6 separate regions of the Homo sapiens genome follow, and all the other regions are linked to region 3. The links are contacts of gene promoters, found by promoter capture Hi-C in human tissues and cell types (Jung and others, 2019). All regions are on one chromosome and are shown on one strand. Each heading gives the region's core, a stretch centred on a gene start or on the middle of the fragment in contact. The rest is flanking DNA. Distances are from core to core; before and after follow the strand shown. Region 1 has its middle 9.8 kb from the start of PTPRS-AS1. Region 2 has its middle 8.4 kb from the start of PTPRS. Region 3 holds the start of ARRDC5 (arrestin domain containing 5). Region 4 overlaps CHAF1A (chromatin assembly factor 1 subunit A). Region 5 overlaps PTPRS (protein tyrosine phosphatase receptor type S). Region 6 overlaps PTPRS (protein tyrosine phosphatase receptor type S).

Region 1 (3,907 bases), core at 244-2,743, 260 kb after region 3:
TAATCCCAGCACTTTAGGAGTCCGAGGCGGGTGGATCACCTGAGGTCAGGAGTTCATGACCAGCCTGGCCAACATGGTAAAACTCCATCTCTACTAAAAATACAAAAATTAGCTGGGGGTGGTGGTGAGCTCCTGTTATCCCAGCTACTCGGGAGGCTGAGGCAGGAGAATCAATTGAACCCAGGAGGGTTGCAGTGAGCTGAGACCGCACCATTGCACTCCAGCCTGGGCGACAAGAGTGAAACTCCATTTCAAATAAAAAGTTAAACACAGAGTCACTGTATGACCCAGGAATCTGACTTCCAGGATACACCAAAAGAATTGGAAGCAGAGACTCAGATGTTTGCACACCATGGTCATAGCAACATGATTCACAGTGGCCAAAAGGTGGAAACAATCCAAGTGTCTGTTGTTTGATGGATGGGTAAACACAATGTGATCCATCCATACAATGGAATATCACTCAGCCATTAAAAGGAATGGGGGTCTGACACAGGCTACAGTAGTGTGGATGAACCTTGGCATCATGCTCAGTGAAAGAAGCCAGACACAAAAGGCCACACAGTGTGTGATCCCATATCTATGAAATGTCCAGGACAGGTCAATCTACAGAGACAGGAAGGGGATTGTAGGTTGCCAGCAGCTGGGGCCAGGGGAATGAGGAGTGGCTATTTAATGGGCATAGGGTCTTCTTTGGGGGTATTTGGGAATTAAAGAGAATTGGTGACTGCACAGCACTGAGTGTGTCAAATGTCACTGAATTGTTCACTTTCAAATGGCTAACTTTATGTGAATCTCACCTCAATGAAAAAGAAATACGGGAAGGATAGACAAGAAACTAAGGATGTTGGTTACCTACAGGGGCAGGTGGGAAATTATTTAAAAGAATTAGGGCAGTAGGCAAGGTGGCTCATGCCTGTAATCTCAGCACTTTAGGAGGCCAAGGTGGGAGGATTGCTTGAGGCCAGGATTTCGAGACCAGTCTAGGCAACATAGCAGGACCCTATCTCTGAAAAAAAAATTGTTTTTAATTAGCCAGACGTGGTGGTGCACACCTGTAGTCCCAGCTACTCAGGAAGCTGAGGTAGGGGGATCATTTGAGCCTAGGAGGTCAGGGATGCAATGACTCGTGATTGTGCTACTGCACTCCAGCCTGTGTGACAGAGCCAGATCCCATCTCTTAAAAAAAAAAAAAAAAAAAAAAAAGGCTAGGTGCGGAAGCTTATGCCTGTAATCCCAGCACTTTGGGGGCCAAGGCAGGTGGATCACGAGGTCAAGAGATCGAGACCATCCTGGCTAACACAGTGAAACCCCGTCTCTACTAAAAATACAAAAAATTAGCCAGGCGTGGTGGCGGGCGCCTGTAGTCCCAGCTACTCGGGAGGCTGAGGCAGGAGAATGGCGTGAACCCGGGAGGCGGAGCTTGCAGTGAGCCGAGATCGCGCCACTGCACTCCAGCCTGGGTAACAGAGGGAGACTCTGTTGCAAAAAAGGAAAAGAAAAAAAAAAAAGAGGCTGGAAGTGGTATGGGAAAAAGAGTAGCAGGAATGAAGAGGGAGTGCCCACTCTCTGAGAACCATTTGGTATAGCTCTGACTGAAAAATCATAGTCATGTTATACACACTTTAAAAGATAACTGATTAAAATCAAGGATATGATGTGTACTCCAAATGGAAAACAAATAGTAAAATATAAACTCAGCTGCACCACAAATGAAAATCAACCACACTGAAGAGCCAGGGGAAGAATGGAGTTGATCTCAGTAAATTTGGGAAACAATGTTTCCACTGGATACTGTTAGGCTAAAAATGAAAATACCTATACACCAACACTATACTCTAGTTCAAAAATCTAGTTCTCATGGCTTAGCCATCTGTACCTACTATATGTGAATATTGCAATTGAGCAAATGAGTGAATTAATTGTAGATGAGCTAGGTTTCTCTCTGTCAGCGAAAAAAGTTACGTCAAGGGTAAAGGAAGCGGCTAGAATGAACATTGTGCTGGTTGGAATCAGAAGTGTCAGTATAGGCTGGGCGCAGTGGCTCATGCCTGTAATCCCAGCACTTTGGGAGGCCAAGGTGGGTGGATCATGACGTCAGGAGATCGAGACCATCCTGGCTAACACAGTGAAACCCTGTCTCTACTAAAAACAAAAAAAAAATTAGCTGGGCGTGGTTGTGGGCGCCTGTAGTCCCAGCTACTCGGGAGGCTGAGGCAGGAAAATGGCATGAACCCAGGAGGCAGAGCTTGCAGTGAGCCGAGATTGCGCCACTGCACTCCAGCCTGGGTGACATAGCGAGACTCCGTCTCAAAAAAAAAAAAAAAAAGTGTCAGTATCAATCCATGATTTTCTAATATATATATATAGACAGATGTTATAGAAATATATAGTCAGTACATATAGATGCAGAAATAAATATGTAAGTATATATATTTATATTATGAATACAGGTGAAAGGGCTCAAACTTGTAATCCCAGCTATTTGGGAGACCAGGGTGGCTTGGGGAGAATCGCTTGAGGCTAGGAGTTCAAGACCAGCCTGGACAACATAGCACAGCCCCATCCCTACAAAAAGAAAAATGTTAAGAAGAAATAAATAAAGATGTGTGTACACATGGCTAATCTGATACCCCAATAGCAGTGAGCATACTAGCACCCCGATCTAAATACCATTCTCCAATAAAAGGAACCAGGGGAGGAATCACTGATTTTATGACTGGGACAGAGAAAACACAAGACAAGGTACAGGCACATACCGCTGTGCCCAGCTAATTTTTTATTTTTTTTGTAGAGATAGGGGTCTCACTTTGTCGCCCAGGCTGGTCTTAAAGTCCTGGGCTCAAGCGATCCTCCCGCCTTGGCCTCCCAAAGTTGGCCATACCCAGCCTACATGAATGATTCGATGGGGGTCTGGGCTCGGTGACTCATGCCTGTAATGCCAGCACTGTGGGAGGCTGAGGTGGGCAGATCACCTGAGGTCAGGAGTTCGAAACCAGCCTGGCCAACATCGCAAAAACCCATCTCTACTAAAAATACAAAAATTAGCTGGGCGTGGTGGTGGGCACCTGTAATCCAAGCTACTCGGGAGGCTGAGGCAGGAGAATCACATGAACCCAGGAGGTGAGCCGAGATCATGCCACTACACTCTAGCCTGAGCAATACAGCAAGACTCCATCTCAACAACAAAAAAAAAAAAAAAAAAGAGAGAGAGAGAGAGAGAAAGAAAAACAGAAAACACAAGATAAACCTGAAGCATCTTGTGTTCCCAGAAAATAAGGAAATGCTCAAAAAAGGGTATAGATATATAGAAAGGACACCAGACCCAACCGAAGCAGCTCCCAGTGGCTGAAGCTGAAACAATTTGAACAATAAAATTAGTGACAGTGTGGGATTATCACCTAGAGAATAAAATAAATATCCAAACTGCTATAAGTAATTGAATAAATACCTAAATGGAGGGAGAAGGGACAGATCTTCCTTACAGATGAGTCACATTACACGTAAGAGGGAGAAGTAATGGCTTAGTCCCTTTGTGCCACTACAAGAGAATATCATGGACTGGGTAATTTACAAAGATCATAGATTTATTTCTCGTGGTTCTGGAGGCTGGAAAGTCCAAGATCAAGGCTCCAGCCTCTGGTGAAGGCTGCTCTCAGCTTCCAGAATGATGTCTTGAATGCCACCTTCTCACATGTCAGAAGGCAGGATGGGAAAGGAGTCAAAATCTCCAGGAAACCTTTTATAATGGCACGAATCCTAAACACCTCCCCCAAAGGCCCCATCTCCCAACACTGTTGCATTGGAGAATCAGTTTCCAACACATGACTTTGGGGGGACCCATTCAGACCATAGCAAAGAGAAAGGAGTTTACATTCAGTCACTCAGAAAACACCTTCACTTTCCT
Region 2 (4,144 bases), core at 687-3,186, 450 kb after region 3:
CGGCAAGATATGAAATCAATACACAAAAATCCATTGTATTTCCTATGCAGTGGCAATGAACAAACGAAATGAAATTAAGAAACCAATTCCATTTACAATTGATGAAAAAGAATAAAATACTTAGGAATATATTTCCAAAAGAAGTGCAAAGCTTATACTATAAAAAATAACAAAAGGTTGAAAGATTAAATTAAAGAAGACTTAACTAAATGGAAAGACATCCCATGCTCATGGATTGGAAGAATAATATTGTTAAGATGTCTATACTCCCCAAATTGATCTAAAGATTAAACCCAATCCCTATCAAAATTTCAGTTAGCTTCTTTGCAGAAATTGGCAAGCTGATCCTAAAATTCATGTGAAAATGTTCGAGGAACTTAGAACAGCCAAAACAATCTTGAAAAAGAACAAAGTTGGAGGACTCAGACTTCCCAATTTCAAAACTTATTACAACCTACTGTAACCAGGACAATGATGTACTGGCATAAGAATAGACATTCAGATCAATGGGGTAGAATTGAAAGTGCAGAAAAAACCCTCATATCTATGGTCAATTGATTTCCATCAAGTTGTCAATTCAGTGGGGAAAGAATAGTCTTTTCAACAAGTGGGGCCAGGACAATTCCATATTCACATGCTAAAGAATGAAGTTGAATCCCCACCTCACACCATATACAAAAATCAACTCAACATGGATGATAGACCTAAATGGAAGAGCTTAAACTATAAAACTCTTAGGAAAAAATGCAGAGGAATAAATCTTAATGATCTTGAATTAGGCAATGGATTCTTTTGAGGTTCCTTTCCAGGTGATTAAAATATTCTAAAATTAAAATGTTAAAAATGTTCTAAAATAAAATAAAAATGTTTAAAAATGTTCTAAAATGTGGATGATTGGTGATGATGATGTCCCTTATACAAAGGGGAAATTTGGACACAGAGACAGACCCATATAGAGGGGAGATGATGTGAAGAAGAGACACAGGGAGAAGGCGGCCGTCTGCAAGCCAAGGAGCGAGACCTCGGAAGTAACACATCCTGGCTGGGTGTGGTGGCTCATGCCTGTAATCCCAGCCCTTTGGGAGACCGAGGCGGGTGGATCACCTGAGGTAAGGAGTTTGAAACCAGCTTGGCCAACATGGAGAAACCCCATCTCTACTAAAAAAAAATACAAAAAATTAGCCAGGTGTGGGTAGTGGCAGGCACCTGTAATCCCAGCTACTCAGGAGGCTGAGGCAGGAGAATCGCTTGATCCTGGGAGGCGGAGGTCGCAGTGAGCGGAGATCATGTTATTGCACTCCAGCCTGGGCAGCAACAGTGAAACTCCATCTCCAAAAAAAAATTGTTTTTGCCATGTTGGCCAGGCTGGTCTTGAACTTCTGACCTCAGGTGATCCACCCACCTGGGCCTCTCAAAGTGCTGGGATTATAGGCATGAGCCACCACGCCTGCCCAGGATTGGTTACTTCTGAGACCTCACTCCTTGGCTTGCAGATGGGCCGCCTTCTCCTTGTATCTCTTCTTCACATCATTTCCCCTATATGTGGGTCTGTCTCTGTGTCCAGATTTCCCCTTTTTATAAGGACACCCATCATAAGGTGGATCATAGGGTGGATCGGGACCCACCCTAATGCCCTCATTTTAACTTTACTTCTGTGAAGACCCTATTTCCAAATAAGGTCACATTCTGAGGTCCTAGGGGTTAGGACTTCAACATCTCTTTTGGGGGAACGCAGTTCAACCCCATAAAAGACCCTTTCCCTGACAGTGGCTTCACTGATACCCCTCAAGGACTTTACCTACTCCTGGACAAGGAGCTTGACATCCCCATGACATATGACAAGAGATGCTAGACCCTAGCCCATAAATCATGAGCACCCTTTGTTGATTGCAATAAGATCCAGGTTTTGGGAGAGGCAAGGGGATGCCATGCAGCCAGCCTCCCAGCTCTAGGGCCTGGCTGGCACATGTAAAGATCAAGGGCTTTATTCTCCCACTCTCCCTGGGGGACGCAATGACAAATTCAGATCAGGCCTCCGTTGTCTCCTGCCAGCTGGCGGTGCAGACAGGGCCTCTTGGTTCATCCCTTCTCAAGGAGAAAGGCTTGGATTCTCCACCAGGTGGGGTCTGTGCTGGGTATTGTGTGTAGAGTCAGAGGGACATGCCTGGCAGTGTCATCTGGACCCCTGCCACAAGCCTCACCAAGCCAAGGGCCTTCCAGTGCCATCAGTGTGGGCCCTGAGTGTGGTACTTGAAACTTTGAGAGGCTACAACTTATTTATTATTGTTTTTTAAGACAGTCTCACTCTGTCACTCAGGCTGGAGTGTAGTTGCATGATCATAGCTCACTGCAGCCTCAAACTCCTATACTCAAACAATCCTCCCACCTCAGTCTCCAAGTAGCTGGGATTACAGGTGTGCACCAGCCCACCCGTCTCATTTCTGCTTTTTTTTTTTTTTTTTTTTTTGAGATGGAGTCTCGTTCTGTCAACAGGCTGGAGTGCAGTGGCACGATCTCGGCTCACTGCAACCTCTGCCTCCCGAGTTCAAGTGATTCTCCTGCCTTGGCCTCCCAAGTAGCTGGGACTACAGGTGCATGCCACCACGCCCAGCTAATTTTTGTATTTTTAGTAGAGACGAGGTTTCACCCTGTTGGCCAGAACGGTGTCAATCTCTTGACCTAATGATCCGCTCACTTCGGGCTCCCAAAATGCATTTTTGTATTTTTTTGTAGCAATGGGGGTTTCACCATGTTGCCCAGATTGGTCTGGAACTCCTGGGCTCAAGCGATCCTGACACCTCAGCCTCCTGAGTCGCTGGGACTATAGACATGTGCCACTATGCCCAGATAATTTAAAAAAAAATTTTTTTTTTTTGTAAACATGGGGTCTCATTGTGTTGCCCAGGCTGGTCTTGAACTCCTGGTCTCAAGTGGTCCTCCCTCCTCAGCCTCCTGGAGCCCTGGGATTATGGATGTGAGCCACCACACTGGCCTCACAAAGTGATTTTAAGTTCTACGCACTGAGCATGAAACACTATGGTATGGTCGCCTGCCAAAATTACTCACGTCTAAGAACAGATGATTCCCCTTGAGCTTGTTAATGTCCCTAGGATTTGTTAATATCATGGTTGGGTCTTTATTGTTTTTCTTTGTAACTTTTTTGTCTTCCTTATTCATTTGACTTGTTACATTGTTACTTGCGCTCGTGTTTTAATTCCACTGATACTTGCATCCAGCGCTGGACACATGACCTGAAGTTTCTTTAAACTGGGCGCGGTGGCTCACGCCTGTAATCCCAGCAATTTGGGAGGCCAAGGTGGGTGGATTGCCTGAACTCAGGAGTTCAAGACCAGCCTGGCTAACATGGTGAAATCCCATCTCTACTAAAAATACAAAAATTAGCCGGGTGTGGTGGCACATGCCTGTAATCCCAGCTAATTGGGAGGCTGAGGCAGGAGAATCACATGAACCTGGGAGGTGGAGGTTGCAGTGAGCTGAGATCATGCCACTGCACTCCAGCCTTCGACACTTCGACAGAGGAGACTCCATCTTAAAAAAAAAAAAAAGAGAGAGAGAGAGAGAAAAGAAGAAGAAAAAGAGACATTTAGGCCAGGTGTGGTGGCTCATACCTATAATCCCAGCACTTTGGGAGGCCGAGGCAGGCAGATCACCTGAGGTCAGGAGTTTGAGACCAGCCTGGCCAACACAGTGAAACCTCATCTCTACTAAAAATACAAAAATTAGCCGGGCGTGGCAATGCCCACCTTTAATCCCAGCTACTCCGGAAGCTGAGGCAGGAGAATCGCTTGAGCCCAGGAGGCGGAGATTGCAGTGAGCTGAGATTGCACCACTGCACTCCAGCCTGGGCGAAAGAGTGAGACCCTGTCTCAATAAATAAATAAAAAATAAAATGAGACATTTAGTTACTGTGTTAGTCCATTCTCACATTGCTATAAGGAAATACCGAAGGCTGGGTAATTTATAAATAAAAGAGCTTTAATTGACTCACAGTTCCACACGGCTGGGAAGGCCTCAGGAAACTTACAATCACGGTGGAAGGCACCTCTTCATAGGGTGGCAGAAGAGAGACTGAGAGAGGGAGAAACTTGCCAAACATTTATAAAACCATCAGATCTCGTGAGAA
Region 3 (3,762 bases), core at 7-2,506:
ATACAAATAAATAAATACAGAAATAAATTAAATTAAATTACACTTTGTTCAGCCAAGTGTTGGCCACGTGTTCTGCTTGACTGCTTAATACCTGGGAATATCCCCACAAACACATTTTGCAATGGACATATAATTTCCCCGACAACTCAGCAGACTCTCTGACATTTGTTCAGATTTCAGATCTGACCTGGTGGAACTGGGGACTAGTTATTCCTTCTCTGGAAGGTCTCCCTTGCTCTTCTACCTCCACTATCTTTCTTTTTTTGAGAGGGAATCTCGCTCCGTCACCCAGGCTGGCGTGCTGTGGTGCGATCTCAGCTTACTGGAACCTCCCCTTCACGAGTTCAAGTGATTCTCTTGCTTCAGCCTCCCAAGTAGCTGAGATTACAGGCACGTGCCAGCACGCCCAGCTAATTTTTTGGTATTTTTTGGTAGAGATGGGGTTTCGCTATATTGGCCAGGCTGGTCTCAAACTCCTGACCTCAAGTGATCCACCTGCCTCGGCCTCTCAAAGTGCTGGAATTACAGGTATGAACCACTGTGCCTGGCCCACCTCCACTGTCTCTCCCCATGAATGCAGGACTGCCTACTTTGTCTCCTGGGGTTTTGCTGTCAGAGTGAAACTTATCTGTAAAAGAATAAGACTTCTCAGAGGCCTCTCAAAGGCAGTTGTTGGATTGAGCATTTTCCAAGGAGACTACTTTGAACCTTCATTTTGAATATCGGGGTTCCGATCAGCTCCTTATGTCTTGTTATTTTTGCGTTTTGTGTATCTGATGGTCATTGTTCTTCATGGCCTCCCTCCTAGGGAGAAATCAGGCCACTCCCTATTTCTGATAGCCCTAGAGTTTTGTTGATTGACTCTCGGATGTGTTTATTTTCCAGACCCAGGTTCCTGTCATGGCTAGGGGTGGCTGTTGGCCTCGTCCTTACCCTCCACTGGGAATGTCTTTGTCTTATGCACGTAGTCTGCCTTGTTGTTGCAAATAACATTTCTGCTATAATCACAGGATGCCCCGGCTTCTTCACTCCATTCGACGTAACCCCTTCCCACGAGCTCCACCTTCACTATGGGGTCCACCAGGGTGCTGTTCAGGGTTAAGATCACCTGCCCTTTTATGCTGGAGCCAGCCAGGTAGATTCTATCCTCGGGCAGCACTAATTCGATCGACTTCACCACAGACATGGGGGGTTGGGGGGTAGAGAGACATTCCTCTCTGTCCCCCATGTCCCTGAAATTCCCGGTTCGTTGGCCCTAGTGAGGTAATCCATCTATGACATCACTCAGCTCAGAGTTCCGGGAAGTGGGGACCCCAGTGGCCAGGAGGGGAGGCAAAACTGTTGTTTAGGGTGGGTGGTTGATTGGGAAACCTGTAGTCCTCACTGGTTCTTTTTTTTTTTTTTTGAGATGGAGTCTTACCCTGTAGCCCAGGCTGGAGTGCAGGGGTGCCATCTTGGCTCACTGCAACCTCCGCCTCATGGGTTCAAGCAATTCTCCTGCCTCAGCCTCCTGAGTAGCTGGGACCACGGGTGCATGCCAGCATGCCCAGCTAATTTTTTGGTAGAGACAGAGTTTCACTGTGTTGGCCAGGATGGTCTCGATCTCCTGACCTCGTGATCCACCCACCTCAGCCTCCCAAAGTGCTGGGATTGCAGGCGTGAGCCACTGCACCTGGGCTTTTTCTTTTTTTGAGACAAAGTCTCATTCTGTCACCCAGGCTGGAGTGTAGTGGCGCGATCTCGGCTCACTGCCACATCTGCCTCCCGGGTTCAAGCAATTCTCCTGCTTCAGCCTCCTGAGTAGCTGGAATTACAGGCATGCACCATCACCATGCTTTGCTAATTTTTTTTTGGTATTTTTATTTATTTTATTTTTATTTTTTGTGATGGTCTCACTCTGTCAGCCAGACTGGAGTGCAATGGTGTGATCTCGGCTCACTGCAACCTCTGCCTCCTGGGTTCCAGCGATTCTCCCACCTCAGCCCCCCAAGTACCTGAGATTACAGGCAAGTGCCACTGCAACTAGCTAATTTTTGTATTTTTAGTAGAGACGGGGTTTCACCATGTTGGCCAGGCTGGTCTCGAACTTGTGGCCTCACATGATTCGCCTGCCTTGGCCTCCCAAAGTGCTGGGATTACAGTTGTGAGCCACTGTGCCCAGGTGCATACACACTCATTTTCATCTTAAAGACTCTACATTTATATTGGTCTATATTGGAAAAAACATAGAGATATGGCCAGGACCTGAAATCTGGTGCGCACTGAAGTTGATCAGGGCAGTGTGTGCTTAATCTGAACATCGACACCATCAGGAAGCAGCAACTCCCTGCATGATTGACATTTCTCTTTTTTTTTGAGGTGGAATCTCACTCTGTTGCCCAGGCTGGAGTGCAGTGGCGTGATCTCGGCTCACTGCAACCTCTGCCCCCTGGGTTCAAGCGATTCTCCTGCCTCAGCCTCCCAAGTAGCTGGGATTACGGGCATGGGGGTTACAGGCACCTGCCCCCGTGCCCGGCTAATTTTTGTTCTTTTTGTTTTTGTTTTTGTTTTTTTTTTGAGATTGGAGTCTCACTTTGTCACCCAGGCTGGAGTGCAGTGGTGCGATCTCGGCTCACTGCAAGCTCCGCCTCCCGTGTTCATGCCATTCTCCTGCCTCAGCTTCCCGAGTAGCTGGGACTACAGGCGTCCGCCACAAATGCCTGGCTAATTTTTTGTATTTTTAGTAGAGACGGGGTTTCATCATGTTAGCCAGGATGGTCTCAATCTCCTGACCTCGTGATCCGCCCACCTTGGCCTCCCAAAGTGCTGGGATTACAGGCGTGAGCCACCGCACCCAGCCAATTTTTGTTATTTTTAGTAGAGACAGGGTTTCACCATCTTGGCCAGGCTGATCTTGAACTCCTGACCTCATGATCCACCCGCCTCACTTGGCCTCCCAAAGTGCTGGGATTACAGGCATGAGCTACCACGCCTGGCTGACATTTCTCTTTATGCCTGCATCTCCCCCATTGGATGGGAAGTCCCTCCAGGGTGAGACCTTGTCTAAGTGAACTTTGTGCCCATCAATGTCTGCGTGACCCAGGCAGGATCTGGCTCAGCCAGGAGTGGGTGTGGGGGGTGGAATCAATAAAAGTTTGTTGAATGACTTAATGACCTCTGAGAATGTATCATTTTGCAAAAGGGAAACTGAAGCCCTTTGCACTCTAACAATTATTCCTGGCACCTGATTTGCACATGGTCTGGTGCCTGAGAGGGAGGGACATTGAATCATAGGAGGGGCTAGGAAGTACCCATTCTCTAGCCTGGCAGGCCTTATTTCTTGTCTTGGCTGTATCTTGCATTATTTTATGTGATAGCTTTTGTGGGCATTGGCCTCTTATTTCCCTAAGTCAAGCTCATCCAACCCCTGACCCACGGGCCACATTTGGCCCAGGATGGAATATGGCTCAACACAAATTCGTAAACTTTCTTTTTTTTTTTTTTTTTTTTTTTTTTGAGACAGAGTCTTGCTCAGTCGCCCAGGCTGGAGTGCAGTGGTGTGATCTCGGCTCACTGCAAGCTCTGCCTCCCAGGTTCACGCCATTCTCCTGCCTCAGCCTCCCGAGTAGCTGGGACTACAGGCATGTGCCACCATGCCCGGCTAATTTTTTTTTGTATTTTTAGTAGAGATGGGGTTTCACCATGTTAGCCAGGATGGTCTCCATCTCCTGACCTCGTGATCCACCTGCCTCAGCCTCCCAAAGTGCTGGGATTACAGGTGTG
Region 4 (3,708 bases), core at 843-3,342, 490 kb before region 3:
AGAAATACTGGTCTAGGTGCAGTGGCTCAAGCCTGTAACCCCAGCACTTTGGGAAGCCGAGGTGGGAGGATTGCTTGAGCTTAGGAGTTCGAAACCAGCTTGACCAACATGGTGAAACTCCGTCTGTACAAAAAATACAAAAAATAGCGGGGCATGGGGGTGCACACCTGTAGTCCCAGCTCCTTGGGAGGCTGAGGTGGAAGGATCACTTGAGCCAAGGAGGCAGAGGTTGCGGTGAGTCATGATTGCACCACTGTGCTCCAGCCTGGGCAACAGCCAGACCGTCTCAAAAAAAAAAAAAAACAAAAAGGAAAAAGAATGGAAACCTTGAAGCCCTCTGTTCTCCCAGGAGGTTGCCATTATTATCATCATCATCACCTTGTGTTTTTCTGTGTCCTGTATATCCAGAGAGATCTCTAGGAAACACCCAGTATCATTTTGTTTCCTTGTGTATGACATATACTGTAAATATCTGTCTTTGTTACTCAAGGGTGTCTTAGATGTTTTTTATATTGGGATGGAAAGATGGAGCTCTTTTTAACAGCTGCGTGATATCCCATGGTGTGGACATGCTGTAGGTTACAGAGCTGTTTTCTCAGTTCTGCTGTTTCTGTGCTTGGCTTTCACAAAATGATTGTTCCCTTGAGCTTCCTTCTACAAGTGGCCTTGGGCTGTTAAGGAGAATGAGGTCTTGGTAGCTCAAGGCAATGCGTGCGTTCTTATTTTCCCAGCTTGCACTCTCTCATGCTTGGGCCAATTGGAGGTTTTCTCTTTTCCCCCCTGCCTCCGCTCCCCTGCTGTCAGGTTTTAGCGGCTTATCTGGTCTGGGCTTAGAAATTAGATACCCTTTAGTATAAAATCAGAGTCCATAGGCTCTGAGAGGATTATCTGAGAAAGGGTGCAGGAATTTTCATGCCCACACATAGTGAGCTCTGTCGCGACTCCTTGGGATTGTCGGTTTTTGTGTTTTGGCTTCCTTCTGGGATCCTGGATCACGTTTTTGGCAGTTGAGGGTGCTGTCTGACCGGGCTCCAGCTGGGTAGAATGTGGGAGTGTTGCATAGAATTTTGAGAGTGAGATCTATAAACACTTGGGTCAAATTTCAAGAAGATAAAGTTCTGTCAGACTTCAAGGTCCATCTGAGGGTTTGGCAAAGCAAAAAAGATACCAGTTTTAAATTAAGCAGTAATTGCTCTGTTTTGGTTGTTGGATATTACTGAGCGGGCTCTTGCCAGTCACATCAAGTCTGTTATCTCTGGACTCACAGCAGAGGGGGGGCATTGTAAGAGGCAGGAGATTCTGCAGCTGAGCTTCAGGCATGGGCAAGACTAAGGAACTGAATTCCCCGCCACCCCAAGACCACATTCCGTATTATAATCTCTGAACACAAAGGGCAGCCCCGGAGAGCTGCGGCTCCCATATTCTGCAGTTAAATCCCTCAGCGTGGGGGAGAGGCACACAGCCTTGGCAGGCAGAGTAGATGCTGGAGAGACAGATGCTTTTTCTGCAGCATTTGGTGAGGCTGCCTCGGGCTGGCATTTCTGTTGCCACATTCTCAGCAAAGACTGAACACCCTGGCCTGATCTCGGTGGTGAAAGAGCTCCTGCCAACACGGGCAGCCTTCTCACAACGGCTCGGCCTTTCCCTAAAGAAAGGTTTAGTCCAGAAAGGACTCAGTGGGACCCAGGTGGAAAGGCTGTCTTGAGCTCATTCATCTGAAGCTTTTATTCTGTGAGAGGTCCTAGTCAGGGGTTCAGCTTTCCCAGATAAAGAAATCACTGTTGGCCGGGCGCGGTGGCTCACGCCTTTAATCCCAGCACTTTGGGAGGCCGAGGCGGGCGGATCACGAGGTCAGGAGATCGAGACCATCCTGGCTAACATGGTGAAACCCCATCTCTACTAAAAATACAAAAAAATTACCCAGGCATGGTGGTGGGCACCTATAGTCCCAGCTACTGGGCAGACTGAGGCAGGAGAATCGCTTGAACCCGGGAGGCGGAGCTTGCAGTGATCCGAGATGGCGCCACTGCACTCCAGCCTGGGCGACAGAGCGAGACTCCGTCTCAAAAAAAAAAAGAAATCACTTACATAATTTTGTTGACCCCTCAGACCATTGCCAGGAAAATGGGCCTTTGGTTTTTCAGTCAACTTCAGTCTTACACTGCAAGTCTGCAATGAACCCGGAGAACTATTTCTTCCCACTCTTAAGCGTCTCTTCCCATTGCTCTTCACTTCTACTAGTTTGGTTTTCAGGATTCCCTGCCCCGGTGGGAGATAGCTTAGGCCAAAGTCCAGACTCCCTGTTCGTCTTCCTTCCTGGGACCATTTAGGTGGATGGTGAGTCACACCATGGATCCTATTGGTAATTCCTAGTAGCTCATGCTCAGTTTGAAGGTAGGTGATAGAAAATATTGTGCCCTAGAAGGTAGAAGTCCTAGAAAACCCCAGCAAGTTTCCCTTTTGTCTTAAGCTTTCACTCCACATTCTAAAAAGCAGAGTTGGCTGGGCGCGGTGGCTCACGCCTGAATTCCTAGCACTTTGGGAGGCGAGGCGGGTGGATCACCTGAGGTCAGGAGTTCGAGACCAGCCTGGCCAACATGATGAAACCCCTATCTCCACTAAAAATACAAAAATTAGCCAGGTGTGGTGGCACACGCCTATAATCCCAGCTACTCAAGAAGCTGAGGCAGGAGAATCGCTTGAACTTGGGAGGTAGAGGTTGCAGTGAGCCGAGATCGTGGCACTCGCTGCACTCCAGCCTCTGTGACAGGAGTAAGACTCCATCTCAAAAATAACATTAAAATAAAAAGCAGAGTTGAGCTAGACAGAATGTAAATTAGTGGTGCACAGGAAACCAGCCTGGAGACATGTTTTATTTGATTAATTTAGTATCTTTTTATTTTTTTTTTAGACAGTCTCACTCTGTCACCCAGGTTGGACAGCTCAGTGCAGCCTCAACCTCCCGGGCTCCTCCCACCCCAGACTCCTGGGTAGCTAGGACTACAGATGTGCACCACAACACCCGACTAACTAAAAGCTTTTTTTAGAGACAGGGTCTTGCTTTATTGCCCAGGCTGGTCTTGAACTCCTGGGCTCAAGTGATCCTCCCGCCTTGACCTCCCAAAGTGCTGGGATTACAGGCATGAGCCACTGTGCCCGTCTGTGTCCATTTTTAAACACCTAAAAAAATTCATATGAAATTCCTAATATCAGCTTCTCTTGGAGAAATTGGAAGGACCAGCAAATAGGGATCTATATTCCTGTAAGAACTCCATCTCCTTTGGACAGGCAGGTCCTCTCTCCTTTGCTACAAATCCATCCTCTCCCTGTCGCCCAGGCCAGCTGTCGCTTTTTTTTTTTTTTTTTTTTTAAGACAGAGTCTCACCCTGTTGCCCAGGCAGGAGTATGGTGGCGCAATCTCGGCTCACTGCAACCTCCTTCTCCTGGGTTCAAGCGATTCTTCTGCCTCAGCCTCCTGAGTAGGTGGGATTACAGGCACCTGCCACCACGCTCGGCTAATTTTTGTATTTTTAGTAGAGATGGGGTTTTGCCACGTTGGCCAGGCTGGTCTCGAACTCCTGACCTCAGGTGATCTGTCTGCCTCGGCCTCCCAAAGTGCTGGAATTACAGGCGTTAGCCACCGCGCCCAGCCTTGTCTGTTGCCTTTATTTCTGAGCTTGCCTTGTTTTTCTTGTGCTTGGTGTCCTT
Region 5 (3,748 bases), core at 377-2,876, 340 kb after region 3:
GGACACTATCCTGCTAGCATCTGAAACCCAGAGACGAATCCTGTCCTCAGAGACACTGGGCTACCAGAGACTGCAGAGGCCACCCCAACAGCTTACTTCAACTAGAGAGACCCTCCGGCCTCACTTAAAGCAAAACATTAGAGGCCCCTCCTCCAAAACTAGACAAAGGGAACCCTTCCCCATTTCTTGACCAGCCACACCAACCAAAGGTGCCCGGGGGGTGCGGGGAATCAGGCAGGGAGCAGGGGGAAAAAAAAAAAAAAAACAACAATCAAGGAATGTGTCGGAAGGAATGGATTTGCTGAGAAAGGGGGAGAAAAAATAAAACCGAAACCATAATAAAATAAGAAACAACAGTGATGGTGATGATGATGAGAAAAACTTAATAAAAGAAAGAAAGACTCCTTCCAGAAAACGCCCAGTCTGGTTACCTACCTTCCACTCTTCAACTGCTAACTTAAAAGACTTTCTTACGAGAGAGGGAACGGCCGAGCGCTGAGCTACAAGGCCAGACCGAACTCTTGGTGGGTCTCAGGATGCCAGTGGCCCCGCAGCCCTGCTCCAGCCCCCAGCGTGCGCACGCTGAGGTTCCAGGCTGGAGGCAGGAAGGTGGCACGGTGTCTGGGGAGACCCACGGCTGAGTGGTCTGACCTGCACCTACCCTGTGTTCAGCCTAAGGAGCCCGCAGTCCCCGGGGGGATGGATACGCCTGGCCCTGAGTCTTTGCTGTCGGTTCTCCTGGGCCCCACCCGTCTCGGGGCAAGAAGCGGGGAGTCCCTTCTCCCCAACTCCCTGTCCTGGGCCGCCCCGGAGGTTCGCGTGGCTGGGCCGAAGCCGCTTTCTAGGTGACCGTGTAGGTCACGTCCTTCACAATCCGGCCCAACCTGCATGACATCTCGGGAAGGGATGTGTGCAAAGACGTGGATGTGCGTGCGTGGGCAGCGTGGCATGGTGGTGGCACGTGGTTTGGGAGAGTTTCTGGGGCCGAATTCGGGCCGTGGACTGTCCGTTCAGCCCAGAGTGGCTGGGGCAGGCGGGGGGGCACGCGGGGTGGGCCGTTTTTGTGAACCTGCTTGAGACCAGCGTGTACTCACCTTCAGGACACCTCAGCCAGTCTCTCAGGTGGCTGCCCAAGCCACAGGCCACCCTCACTGACTCCACCTCACACAGACGCGCCCAGACGCCTTGGAGCCGCCAGGTGCTCAGCTCGGCTTGGTTTGTGGGGAGCAGGAAGGAGGGAAGGGGGCCGGCGGGGGCAGGGGGGTTGTGTCTCCGAGGCGCCCCACCCCCCCGATCCCAGCGGCTCAGATGCCCCGGCTGGAGTTGATGTTAACCCTTCGACTGATCCGAGATGCCCCTGTGTACACACACCCAGGGCGGGCCTTGAAGGTTTGACCATCATGACTGATTCTGGAAGAAAGCCTGGGGTGGCTACGCCGTGACTGACTGGGTGAAGGGAGGGAAGAGGGGGAAGCAGGGGGAGGCCACGACAGAGAGACCACGCCGGTGGAGGCCACACCAGGGAAGGCCACGCTGGGCTGAGCGGAGCCAGGGAGGCAGGTGAGGTGGGGAGACGGCAGAAGGGGCCTGTCCAGCTCCGAGTTTAGAGAAGTCAGGGAGAGAGGGTGGCGGTGACCCACAGCCAACTGCCAGGTGAAGGGTGACTCGCTCCAAACAGGGAGGCCGGGCCGGCACAGCAGAGAACTCCAGAGATTTGAGCCCCGAGTGGGGACCTGCATGCCCCCACGAAACCTGGCCTCGGCTCCGATTCCACCCCCTCCCCACCCTCGGGAACTGGGACCTCGTCCTGGGGTCTTGAGAGCCAAGGCTCCCTGCCCGGGGGAGGAAGACCGACGGGGAAGGTGGGTTCGTCTCTGTGTCCTTTGCTCTGAGAATGATGGGGTGCGAGCCGTGACCACAGCCTCACGGTACCCTCAAAATGCCTGGGAAATGGGCACAACGTGGCCCTTCAATCAGCCCCCACTCCAGGATGGAAAGAGGAGAAAGAAGGCGTGGTCCCAGAACCTCTCCTACACCAGGGCCAAGATCAGCCACTTCTCCTTGACCCCAAGTCTCAACCCGGGTCACCAGGCCCAGGGGCACAGACAACCCCATGCTGAGACCCTCGCTGTGCTGATGGGGATACTGAGGCACAGCGCGGGTAGATGGATCCGAGGTCGGGGAACAAAGCGGAGACAGGCCGGGAGGCGCCCCCCACCCACTGCAGCAGGCCCCGCCTGGGTCCGTCTGCCGAGGGGCTGTCTGCGGTCAGGCCGTGGTCCCTCCCGCAGAGAAGGGCGGCCCCGCGAGACACCTACTGGACTGCAGCGTGCGCTGCCGCACCACGGGGGTGAAGGCGCCCAGGCCCTGCGGCGAGCGGGCCGCCAGGCGGAAGGCGTACTCCGTGTTGGGCTTCAGGTCCTCCACCACGTAGGAAGTCGTCGGGTCGAAGGTCCTTCCCACCTGGGGGCAGGGCAGAGAAGGACAGAGAGGGATGGGGGAGAGAGAGAGAGAGACAGAAACAAAGGGGAGAGAGAGAGAGACAGAAACAGAGGGGGGAGGGGGAGAGAGAGAGAGAGAGAGAGAGACAGAGAAATAGAGACAGGGGTGCGGCAGAGAGGGACAGAGAGGGATGAGGGAGAGAGGTAGAGGGGAGAGAGAGGTAGAGACAGAGATACAGACAGAAAAAGAGGGTACGGAGAGAGACAGAGACGGAGAGAGACAGAGACAGAGAGAAACAGGGGAGAGAGTCAGAGACAGAGGGACACAGAGACAGAGATAGAGACAGAGGGACACAGTGACAGAGATAGAGACAGAGAAACAAAGGAGAGAGACAGACACAGAGACAGAGATAAATGGGAGAGACAGAGACAGAGAGAGATACAGAGACAGACAGAAACAGGAGAGAGATACAGAGACAGAGGAATAGAGAAATTGAGAAGGAGACAGATACAGAGATAGACACACAGAGACAGAGAAATAGAGACAGAGACAGAAACACAGAGAAACAGGGGAGAGAGACAGACAGAAACGGAGGAGAGAGAGATTGAGACAGGGACAGAGAAAGAGAGGAGAGAGAGACAGAAATAGAGATAGAGACAGAAATAGAGAGAGAGGAGAAAGAAACAGATACAGAGACAGAGACAGAGAGACAGAAAGAGAGGCAGAGGGATAGAAACACAGAGACAGATGGAGACAGAAAAAAAACACACAGAAAACAGAGACAGAAAGAGAAACAGAGACAGAGACATAAACAGACAGAAACAGACCCGGAGGGATGGAGAGTGAGCGTCAGAGGCACCGGTGAAGACAAGACACAGAGAGAAGCACAGATCAAGAGAGATGGGGACGCCGATACATACGGAACCAGAGAGAGGCCGCCAGCAGCAGAGGAGAAAGACAAAGGAGATGAGACAGAGGAGAAAAAAGTGGAGGAAAGGCACAAAGGGACAGAGACGCAGGAGAAGCAGAAGGGGTGAGGAAGAGCAGAATCCGCAGCACACATAGGGACAAAGAGGGGGAAGAGACAAGGCGGGCAGCGTCAGAGAGCGCCGGGGAGGAGCCCAGGGCAGGCCAGCCCGTCCCCGCGCTGCCTCACCTCCCGGCCATGGTCGCCTTCCCGGAAGAGGAGCTCGTACTTGATGATACTCTCCTGCCGCGGGGGGCTCCAGGACAGCGTGATGCTGGTCTCCGACCTGGCCTCGGCCCGCAGGTTCATGGGCTGGCCCGGCACTGTGGGGGTGCAGGG
Region 6 (4,105 bases), core at 360-2,859, 350 kb after region 3:
GATTAGGGGTTGCATTTTTTCCCCTTTTTGCAATTAATTCCTGTGACTGGCTGCTCTGGCAACAATGTAAATACTTGTAGCTTTCAGAACATGCCAGGTAGCCCATCTCTTCTGGTGGGCTGGTACTTATCTGCAAGGGTAGCCTTGTACTTAATATGGGCCTTTGTTGTCCCTTTCTGTGGCCACAGAACTTCCTAGGAAATGACAGTGGGGAAAATGAGAGCTATGGCTCTGGGTAGTCCGCTGATCTCATGGGGATGGGGCTGGAGCCAGGAGAAAATGAGATCATGAGATGAGCTCAGGAAAGCACTAGCGAAAAATGAGGTCTGAGCAAATGAATTAGCTTCTGCCCTACAATTATTTTTAAAAGTTTCCCATATGCCATCTTATTCAAACAGTGGACATGTGAAGTACATAACAGGGAAACTAAGACCCACAAAGAAGGGAAGTGACTTGCCCAGATCATTTGCTTGAATCCTTTATTTACAACAATCCTACTGGGAATGCTTGTTACACAGAGCACTTAGTTCAATGAAATCCTTTCACCTACCCTGTGATCAAGGTTCATTTATGATCTCTACTGTTCAGATGAGGAAGTGGGGACTCCAAGTGGTCAAATGACTAGTTCAAGGTCACGTAGCCAGGGAGGGGCACAGACAAAACTGGAATCCAGGTCTGCCAGAGTCCAGAGCCTATGCTCTCATCACTTTCTGGGCTGTACTGCCCAGAAAGTCCAAGTGGTCTTCAGAGACCCTCTGTTCACTCAGTTCCAATGCACCAGCACCTAGCTTTGGTGGAGGGGCTGGGAGACCCCTTTCTGCCATCTTTTGGCACTGCTCTGAGGGTCAGCCTGGCAGCTCGCATGCTGGGTTAATAAGCAAATCTTACTGCATCTAAAGTCCTCTTGCCAACTTGGTCCAGGATTTAATAATTGGTAAGTTTGGAGAAGGTGAGTGAGGGACAAGAGGGGGAAAAGGTGATTCCAAAGTCTGGCTTCTGTCCTCAACATCGTCTAAACGGGGTAGTCAGCTGGGGTTGGTGGTTAAAAATCTACACGGATATTTTATTGGGGGGTGTTTTTTATTGGGGGTTGGAGTAAGACTCTCAAGGGCGTGCCTTTTCTTGGGGAGGGGAGCAGAAGATGGGGGTGTGCATCTCTGAAGATTTGCAAGAGTGAGAGACACACAGAGAGAAAGAGAGTTGAAAAAGAGAAAGAGAAGCAGAGGGAGAGTTGGGGAGGCAGAGAGAGCAGGGGAGAGGCTGTGTCCAAGGTTCCCCTGGGCTTTTTCCAGAATTCCACAGCTCTGATGCTCAGGTACTCAGAAAGTGACCATGCTGTGTTGCTGGACAAAAGACGCCTGTGACCGGGCTCAGAGTCTGAGAGGGGATGGGGGAAGCAGCCAGTGCTGCCTGGGAGGCAGAGGCATAGTGTTCCAGGTCAGATAATTGGCCAAGTCTTTCTTCCAAAGTCTGTCAGGCTACATTTCCTAATGGGCACTTCTGGATTGGTACCCAGCCAGAATGCATACAGTCATCACAGCAGCTGCCATTTTGAGTGCCAATTACACACCGAGTATGCATGGTCCTGTGAAAATGGTGCTGTTATTGTCCTCTCCCCTCATTTAAAACTGACCATAATCCATGTTTGGATATGTCACTAAAATGAATAAGAACTCAAAATGCTAGTGCACATTCAGCAGTACTTCAAATGCCTGGGTTTGGGCTTATTTGGGAGCGCAGGAGGCAGTCTCATTCTGAGGTAGAAGGATGGGAACATGCCTGCTTAAGCTTCCTTCCAACATGGCTGCCTGGAGGCAGGGAGCTGAGTTACTACCTCTGGGGAAAGAGGAGCTGGCCAGTGAGGTCAGGAAAATTGGGCTGCTCTCTCCACACACCCCACCCATGTTCTGACCTCCTGCCATCTGTCTGTGCCACCTCCCTTGTGCCCTTGTGCCTAAGTGGTCACTTTCTGCCCTGGCATCCCAGCTGTGGGACCCCTTCTGCCCTCCTGGATGATAGCTGGGACAGGAACACTGGCTTTTAAATCACAATGCGTTTGGAGAACAACCACAGAACAGCTCAACCCAAGAAACCAAAACCAAATAGCACAGACACAAGACAGAACCAAAGACGAGTCGCTTTGGGGGAGAAGAGGACCAGGTGAAGGGAATGGGAGGGGAAAAAAGAACCATTTGATTTTTTCCCCCCAAAACGAAACAAAACCAAAGAAAAAAAGAAAAAAGAAAAAAAAAAGAAAAAGGAAAAAAGAAAACCAAAAGAGAAAAACAGAACAGAAGACGAGAAACACTCCAACAGAAGGCGTTGGGAATTCACCAAACCAAACCGACAAGAGAGGCATGCAGAGAAATTTTTACATTCTCCCAGCATGCATCAGGCCCAAGTTACCATGACGACGAGGAGTGCAAAAAACTTAGCAACAACATTACCAACGGATGCAGAGGCGACCATAATGCAAGCATCGCATGTGTGCGGCCGGCCCTAGGCCGGGCTGGGCGCGGCTGAGATTTTCGTGTCTTTCTGGGTTTTGCGCTCGCTTGGCGGTTTTTTGTTTAGTTTGCTTTGTGCTTATGATTCATATTCCATCTTTTAAAATTGTTGTTCATTTTTCTATTTTTTTTCCGTGTGTGTGTCAGCGTGTGTCCGTGTGGTGTCTACATGTGTTTTGTGTGTGTGCGTGTCATTTTCAGAATGTAAAAATGTGGGTAAAGAAAGTAAAAAAGAAAAAAACACACCAACCTTCTCGAAGCTCTGAGGGATGTAAAGGGGGTTTGATGCAGAACACAATGACATGGGAAGAAGAGAAAAAATAGGGGAGATACAGAGAGTAAAAAGAGGACTTCCCAAGGCTAAAAGCTGCAATAGTTTGTTGTTTTTTTTTTCTTTAAACCAAAAAAAAAAATTAAAATTAAAAAATAAAAAGAACAGCAATGACCTTTTTGTCTTCTCTCCACTCTGCCCTCAACATACAAGATCTACTACATTTGCCTTTCTCCATTCTTTTCTAAGCTTGATTCTGGAGCATCTAAGACCCAGGCAAAGATGGGGAAACAGAACCTCACCCCCTCAACTGTCCCCAAGAGGATGGAGGCTCATGCTGGGGACCCCACCTCTGGGGGATGAGGACACAGAAGCCCCCCTCCCTTCTTGCACCCTCACTAAAGGCCCCACCCGGCTCCCTGCCCCACACCCGCTGTCCACACTCTTTTGAGCCCTGCTGGATTTACAAACCCCCATCCCAGGTGTTGGCAGAGAAATAAGCAGGTTAGGTGAAGACCAGTCAGTTGGAGTCACGAACGCATTACAACTCACCAGAGGTGCCGTGACAGTGGATCAGACGTGCCCCTACCCACCACCCGTCCATACACCCACATCCCCATCCCCTCCCCCTCCATGCGACCTCCTCCTCAGAGACAAAATGCAAAACCCCAGGTCCAGGACCAAGGAATCACTTCAGGGCCAGCGGGTGCTGTGGATGGTAGGGACGAAGGTGGTGAGTGAGGGTCTGTGGGTAAGGGATGAGCCACACGGCCTCCTGGATGGAGAACAACTAGGGCTTGGTACTTCGCATGGGGGAAACTGAGGCCCAGAGAAGGATGTGATTGAGTCAATTACACAGCGCTAACTGGGGCAGCCCTAGGGATTGAAGGGCGCCCTGGCATCCTGGCAGAAGCTGTTTCTACCACAAATCTGATCAGAAACAGCGACTAGGAGGTGAAAGGGAGGAGGAGGAGGAAGACTACAACTTCTGAAAAGACCCAAGAGCCAACACACGAGATAAGAGGAGGCCAACGGAGGCATCTGGGGGCAAGGGAGCCCCCTGGCACCTTTGAGGCAGCACCAAGGGACCCACAAGGAAGTAAGCTTCCTTGGGGCAGGGGAGCGGGGAGGTGCTGGGGCGAGGCCCCCACGCTGCTGGGCATGACTGAGTGGGAATTGGAAACTGAGAGTAACAAGCTTCGCTGGGTGCCGTGCCTGCCCCAGCTCGGTGCAACTACCGAGCCCCCCGGGTGCCTGTGCCCGCTGTGGCTCCAGCCTCCCATCGGCCTGGACTGCCCTTCTCGGAGAGTCATTAGGAAGAGGCAGA

What was found. The method cuts DNA at HindIII sites, captures the fragments that hold promoters and counts their contacts. A contact is called where the count stands out against the background at its distance.
Region 1: a fragment that was not itself captured here is called in contact with the fragment with the promoter of ARRDC5 in region 3 in 3 of the 25 tissues and cell types used here (aorta, spleen and thymus).
Region 2: a contact is called between a fragment that was not itself captured here and the fragment with the promoter of ARRDC5 in region 3, in 1 of the 25 tissues and cell types used here (dorsolateral prefrontal cortex).
Region 4: a fragment that was not itself captured here is called in contact with the fragment with the promoter of ARRDC5 in region 3 in 1 of the 25 tissues and cell types used here (dorsolateral prefrontal cortex).
Region 5: a fragment that was not itself captured here is called in contact with the fragment with the promoter of ARRDC5 in region 3 in 2 of the 25 tissues and cell types used here (dorsolateral prefrontal cortex and lymphoblastoid cells).
Region 6: a fragment that was not itself captured here is called in contact with the fragment with the promoter of ARRDC5 in region 3 in 1 of the 25 tissues and cell types used here (dorsolateral prefrontal cortex).

The regions. Positions count from the first base shown.
Region 1 is chr19:5,166,024-5,169,930 of GRCh38, forward strand. No RefSeq gene overlaps it. Among named protein-coding and RNA genes, the nearest start is that of PTPRS-AS1, 9.8 kb to the right of the region's middle. The HindIII fragment of the contact is 5,500 bases long and covers 1-3,907 here.
Region 2 is chr19:5,347,121-5,351,264 of GRCh38, forward strand. No RefSeq gene overlaps it. Among named protein-coding and RNA genes, the nearest start is that of PTPRS, 8.4 kb to the left of the region's middle. The HindIII fragment of the contact is 4,016 bases long and covers 1-3,944 here.
Region 3 is chr19:4,901,640-4,905,401 of GRCh38, forward strand. It overlaps ARRDC5 (arrestin domain containing 5), which reads right to left and starts at 1,257. Exons shown (of 3, transcript NM_001080523.3): 1 at 934-1,257. The coding sequence starts at 1,186. It also overlaps a transcript of UHRF1 not described here. The HindIII fragment of the contact is 23,961 bases long and covers 1-3,762 here.
Region 4 is chr19:4,414,109-4,417,816 of GRCh38, forward strand. The region is part of intron 3 of CHAF1A (chromatin assembly factor 1 subunit A); the gene reads left to right. Among named protein-coding and RNA genes, the nearest start is that of CHAF1A, 13 kb to the left of the region's middle. The HindIII fragment of the contact is 3,051 bases long and covers 568-3,618 here.
Region 5 is chr19:5,236,601-5,240,348 of GRCh38, forward strand. PTPRS (protein tyrosine phosphatase receptor type S) reads right to left here. Exons shown (of 38, transcript NM_002850.4): 12 at 3,599-3,732; 13 at 2,319-2,463. Among named protein-coding and RNA genes, the nearest start is that of PTPRS-AS1, 61 kb to the left of the region's middle. The HindIII fragment of the contact is 6,554 bases long and covers 1-3,748 here.
Region 6 is chr19:5,253,351-5,257,455 of GRCh38, forward strand. PTPRS (protein tyrosine phosphatase receptor type S) reads right to left here. Exons shown (of 38, transcript NM_002850.4): 9 at 2,758-2,769. Among named protein-coding and RNA genes, the nearest start is that of PTPRS-AS1, 78 kb to the left of the region's middle. The HindIII fragment of the contact is 3,689 bases long and covers 1-3,454 here.